Linked DNA regions of Homo sapiens: region 1 is linked to region 2. The links are contacts of gene promoters, found by promoter capture Hi-C in blood cells and fetal thymus (Javierre and others, 2016). All regions are on one chromosome and are shown on one strand. Each heading gives the region's core, a stretch centred on a gene start or on the middle of the fragment in contact. The rest is flanking DNA. Distances are from core to core; before and after follow the strand shown.

Region 1 (2,773 bases), core at 9-2,508, 240 kb after region 2:
AGGGAGGCACGGAAGCCTGTTTGAGCTGAGTTAAGACAGTGGCCATCCTGTCTTCTGGGGCTAAGCAGCCAGCCCAAGAGCAAAGGGAGAGGGGAACAAACCTGTCATCCCTTGGGGTGAGTCGGGAAGGGACACAATTCATTGACCTAAGAAGAGGGTGGCCTTTCTAGAGGGACAAGAGGAGGCAGTGATGAGGATGGAGTGACCATCCCATGAGTCCCATCTCAAGGGGGCTACTGGAGATAATGATTGGTCACTCATGGGGTCTATGGGGATGGAAATAGATAGCCCCTAAAGCTAAGGGGGAAAGGGATAGCACTGCAAGCTCAATAGGGGTGGGAACAGGCCTATTTTTGCTAAGGACAGGAGCATCATTCCAGGACCGATGGGAAAGGGTGGCCTGTTTCCCATGGGCAGAGAGAGGGGGCTGCCAACCCTCAGGACAAAAGAGATGGAGAAGCCATTCCAACAGGCCACTGAAGACAAAACCTGTTATCTCCCTGGCAGATGGGGCAGAGTGGTCTTGCCCCTGGCTAAGGGGAAGGAGCAAACATCCCACGGAGTGAAAGAGGTAAGGGCGGCCATCACTAGGGGCCTAGGAATGGGGAACAGGCCTATCCTTGTTAAAGGAACTCAGAGATCATTGCAGTTGATGGGGAGGGAGCAGTCTGTTTCCCACTGCCAGGGAGAAGGGGCGGCCGTCTCTGTAGGAAATGGAGAGATCATCCCAAGGGACCAATGGGGATAAGATCAGTTACCCTTCGGGACGATGAGATGGAGCGGACATCTTCCAGAACTGAGCGGGGAGGAGACAGCCACTTCAAGGGAAGGGGATGGGCAGAGGGCCTGTTCTCGCGGAGATGACAGGGCAGCTATCTTCTGGGGCCGATAGGGAAGGGGAGGACGGTCCCCCAAGCTAAAGGGACAGAGTGGCCCAAAGGAGGAACCGTTACCCAGAGCTAGAAGGTCCCGGGATCGGGAGGGCGGGTCGTTTCCGCCAGGCTGGAGGGGCCGGGCTAGCTATCTGACAGCCCCTCCCCAAAGCTCAGGACCGCGAGGGCGGGGCCTGTCCAGAGCTAGGCCTGAGGGCGGCTTCCTCTCACCTCCAGGGGCAGCGACTCCGCCATCGCATCCCTGCCGCCTCCGCCCCCACTGCGCAAGGCTTTCTGGGAAATGTAGTCTCGCCTCTTTGGGGCGGGGCTTGGGAAGGAAGTGAGACCTATTTCCGTCGCAAAAGCTGACGACTTCGGTCTGCGCCGGAAGTGCATGAGCTGCCGATGTGGTGCTTAGTGATTGCGGTTTCGGTCGCTCTCCCGTGTTTCCCGGGCTGGGTATTTGCCTCGCACCATGGCGGTAAGGAGGATGGATAGGGCGGGGTCCGCACCAGCAAAGCTCTCCAGGGGCTGTGAGAGTGAAAACTGAGAAAGAACATTAAGGGATATGGGGTGGGCCAGAGCGGGGCGCCATCCCTGGCCAGACCGTGCTAGAGCTGGGCTGGGGGGATGGCGGCGCAGGACCATACCAGGACTAGTGCCAGAGCGGGGTGGGCATCAGTACCAGGGCAGGCCAGAGATCTAAGTGACCTGAGGTGGGGGTTAACCCAGATCGGGACTACGCCAGCGGAGGCCTGAGAGAGGCACCATTCAACTCCGCTCAGGAGTACCCTTGGAAGAGTCGTTAGCCTAAAGCCAGACTACCACGGGATCCAGAGGCGGTATTAGCTTAGGATTGAATTGTTCCAGGGCGAGCAAGAGGCGATTGATCCTAGCTGCGGGTGCTGGAGAGATGGCGTCAGCCCTAGGCAGAATGGACTGGAGGATGGGTGGACATCCCAGGGATTTTGCTAGGTTTCTGCACTACGGGGACCTGGCTGAGTTGCGGATGGAGCTCTATAGCTCACCAGGCTGGTGGGGAGAATGAGGAGGACCGTGGCCTCCTGACGGCATCTCATCATTCCTCTGCAGCCCAAGGGCAAAGTGGGCACGAGAGGGAAGAAGCAGATATTTGAAGAGAACAGAGAGACTCTGAAGTTCTACCTGCGGATCATACTGGGGGCCAATGTAAGTGCCTACCTCCTTGCTTCTATGCCCACTTATAGTCAGTTCCCTAGTCCTCAGCCCTGCTTGGTGACGAGGAGTGGTACCCGAAAAAGCTCTAGAAGAGAGCTCCAGTCAAAAAGAAATGAGAGATCTGGGCACAGAGAAAGTGCTAACTAGTAAAACACAAAGAAAATGAAGGCGTGAGTCGTAGCTGAATTTGAGAGCTCTTCCTACCTCCAAGTACACAAAGGCTTCTTTCCTGGGCTGAGTTGGGTGTCAGAGGAGAGTGGGTATTTGGGATTCAGGGAGCAGGGCCCTTTCTTCAACCCTGTAAGAACAACCTTGCTCCTCCCACAGCCTGGCCTAATTCTTGGTCAGAGTTGAGGGAGACCCATGGTTTGGAGGTAACTTCTGACCCCAACCTGATCCTGTGATTGCTTGCAGGCCATTTACTGCCTTGTGACGTTGGTCTTCTTTTACTCATCTGCCTCATTTTGGGCCTGGGTAAGTATCTCCATCCTGGGAGGTGGATGAGTGCGTAGGGTCAGTGGCTGGCCTTTGATACCCTCATTCTTGCTCTGCAGTTGGCCCTGGGCTTTAGTCTGGCAGTGTATGGGGCCAGCTACCACTCTATGAGCTCGATGGCACGAGCAGCGTTCTCTGAGGATGGGGCCCTGATGGATGGTGGCATGGACCTCAACATGGAGCAGGGCATGGCAGAGTGAGTGTCCCCC
Region 2 (2,804 bases), core at 105-2,604:
AAATAAAGAGCATCTCCGAAGAACTCAGAAAATTGACTGTGAAAGAAGGAGGTTTAACCATCTGTCAGGCCTATAGAGCAAGAGGCTGTGGGCCAAGGGAGAAGTTCTCTGTTCCCCTGCCTTTTCCCCTCCCCAGCACAGAAGCCCAACAGACCCTCTTTTCACAAAGATGGGCCAGGACCCCAGACTTTGGGGGTACACGAGAGAGGAAACATCTTACCTTTTTTTTGTTCTTTGAGATGGAGTCTCACTCTGTCGCCCAGGCTGGAGTACAGTGACGCCATCTTGGCTCACTGCAAGCTCCGCCTCCTGGTTTCAAGCAATTCTCTTGCCTCAGCCTCCTGAGTAGCTGGAACTACGGGCGCGTGCCACCACGCCCGGATAATTTTTTGTATTTTTAGTAGGGACGGGGTGTTAGCCAGGATGGTCTCGATCTTCTGACCTCGTGACCCGCCTGCCTCAGCCTCCCAAAGTGTTGGGATTACAGGCATGAGCCACCGTGCCTGGCCTATTTATTTTTGAGACAGGGTCTCACTCTGTCACCCAGGCTGGAGTGCAGTGGCCCGATCTCGGCTCACTACAACCTCCGCCTCCCAGGTTCAAGCCATCCTCCTGCCTCAGCCTCCTGAGTAGCTGGGACTACAGGCACACACTACCACGCCCAGCTAATTTTTGTATTCTTTGTTTTAGTAGAGACGGGGTTTCACCATGTTGGCCAGGCTGGTCTCGAACTCCTGACCTCAGGTGATCCACCTGCCTCAGCCTTCCAAAGTGCTGGTATTACAGGCATGAGCCACCACACCCAGCCCCATCTTACCTTTGACTGAAGATGGGACTGCTGTCTCCTTGCTTCCACCTCCCACACTTGCTCCTGTGGCTCCAAACTTCAAACAGGATCTTTCTTTGCCTGGCCCACTCCTCCTCATCCTTTACTTAGAAGATTAGATCTTTTCCAGGGAATCTTCATTCCCACCACCCGGCTCTGGGCTCACTCCTCGGGTGCCCCTCTGGGCTCCCACATTACGGTTGCTTTCAGGTCCAGCTTCCGCATGTGGACTATGAAACTGTGAGGACAGCCAAGGGTCAGCATGTGCGAGGAAAGGCAGGGAAGAGGCTAGACGAGGCACTGGGGAGCAGGGAGGCCCAAGACCCTTAAATCCACAGACAGGAAGCCCTGGCTGAAGGGCCAAGTAACCAGGTGTTCTACTTCAATCTTGGCACCCACTGTATGCTTAGACCTTGACTCACACATGTTCAGCTTTAAGCCACTGCACAGATGAGCAAACGGGGCGGAGATTGCAGGCTGATCAGTTTGAAGAGCCAAGATCATCTAGCGTGACCTGTTGCCCAAGGCAGAGACAAGGCTGTGGGCTGGTCAGAAGCTGGTTACAATTCCTCCCGCCCCAGTACTTGCTGGCAGGGATTAAGAGCAGATAAAAGTGTGCTCACACACTGTAGACACGGCTACCATGCCATCCACAGTGTTGCCATCCACAGTGTTGCCATCACTCCTGCCCACAGCAGGAGCTGGCTGGAGCATGAGGTGGATTCTGTGCTGGAGCCTCACCCTCTGCCTGATGGCGCAGACGGCCTTGGGTAAGACCCCCACCCCTTCCCGAGAGTGTCAGGCAAGACGGGCACAAGGGATGGAGGGACAGGCCCCAGTTCAACCTCTCCTGGGGACAGCAGGGCAGGAGCACTTAGACAAGGCCTGGGCAAATGGAGGGTAGGGTTTCAGGACACTAAACCATCTACCAGCTGGGAGTCTGGACAAGTCCTTTAGCCTCCCTGAACCTCAGGGCTTCTCTGTATTTCCTGCCTCCCGGCACAGGTGAAGGGGTCTGAGAACATGGCCACATCTTTTCTTCCTTCCCACCTTTTTCCTTCCTTCCATCCTTCTTTCCTTCTCCTAAGCAGGAGGCCTGTCTCTGCCCCCTCTCTGCTACATGAACCTCTTTACCACCTTCAAATTTCTCCCCAATATCTTTCTTTTTAAAATGAGTACTACACTTTTTACTGTGAAAACAATCTAATACATTAACAAAAGTTTACTGAGGTATAAGATGTATACAGCAAGGTGCACACATCTTCACTGTATAATTATATCTATTATACTAATTATTATATATATATATATGGTAACCATTATCCAGATCAACATCTAGAACATTTCCAGTGGGTTAGGCATGGTAGCTCATGCCTGTAATTCCAGCACTTTGAGAGGCTGAGGTGGGAGGATTACTTGAGCCCAGGAGTTTGAGACCAGCCTGGGCAAATAGTGAGACCTAGCCTGGGTAAATAGACTCTGTCTCTATTTTTAAAAAACATTTTTTAAAAAGTTTTTTTAACTTACAAGGATACACCTGTAATCCCAGCACTTTGGGAGGCCGAAGCGGGCAGATCACCTGAGGTCAGGAGTTTGAGACCAGCCTAACCAATATTATTACCCCGTCTCTACTAAAAATACAAAACTAGCCAGGCATGGTGGCACATGCCTGTAATCCCAGCTACTCAGGAGGCTGAGGCAGGAGAATCGCTTGAAGCCAGGAGGCAGAGGTTGTAGTGAGCCGAGATCGTGCCATTGCACTCCAGCCTGGGCAACAAGAGCGAAACTCTATCTCAAAAAAAAAAACAAAAAACCATCTCCAGCGTCCCATGTACTCCTTCTCAGTCAATACTCAAAGTTACCACTAGTCTGACCTCTATCATAAATAAATTTTGCCCATATATACATATATCCATTATTTTAAATTTGAAGGAAACTTTGCTTACTCCGCTTTTAACATTTTGGCGCATTTTCTTTT

Evidence for each region. Contacts are between HindIII fragments. The CHiCAGO score rates a contact against its expected background, and 5 or more counts as called.
Region 1: the fragment with the promoter of TMEM208 here is called in contact with the fragment with the promoter of CES4A in region 2 in 15 of 17 cell types (activated CD4 T cells, naive CD8 T cells, total CD4 T cells and 12 more); the score reaches 12.3 in activated CD4 T cells.

What each region holds. Positions count from the first base shown.
Region 1 is chr16:67,225,872-67,228,644 of GRCh38, forward strand. TMEM208 (transmembrane protein 208) reads left to right here and starts at 1,259. Exons shown (of 6, transcript NM_014187.4): 1 at 1,259-1,353; 2 at 1,965-2,060; 3 at 2,484-2,543; 4 at 2,624-2,760. The coding sequence starts at 1,348. It also overlaps the pseudogene FBXL9P. RefSeq lists an enhancer at 1,062-1,411. The HindIII fragment of the contact is 11,037 bases long and covers 1-2,773 here.
Region 2 is chr16:66,987,235-66,990,038 of GRCh38, forward strand. CES4A (carboxylesterase 4A) reads left to right here and starts at 1,355. Exons shown (of 14, transcript NM_001364782.1): 1 at 1,355-1,596. The coding sequence starts at 1,539. The HindIII fragment of the contact is 37,432 bases long and covers 1-2,804 here.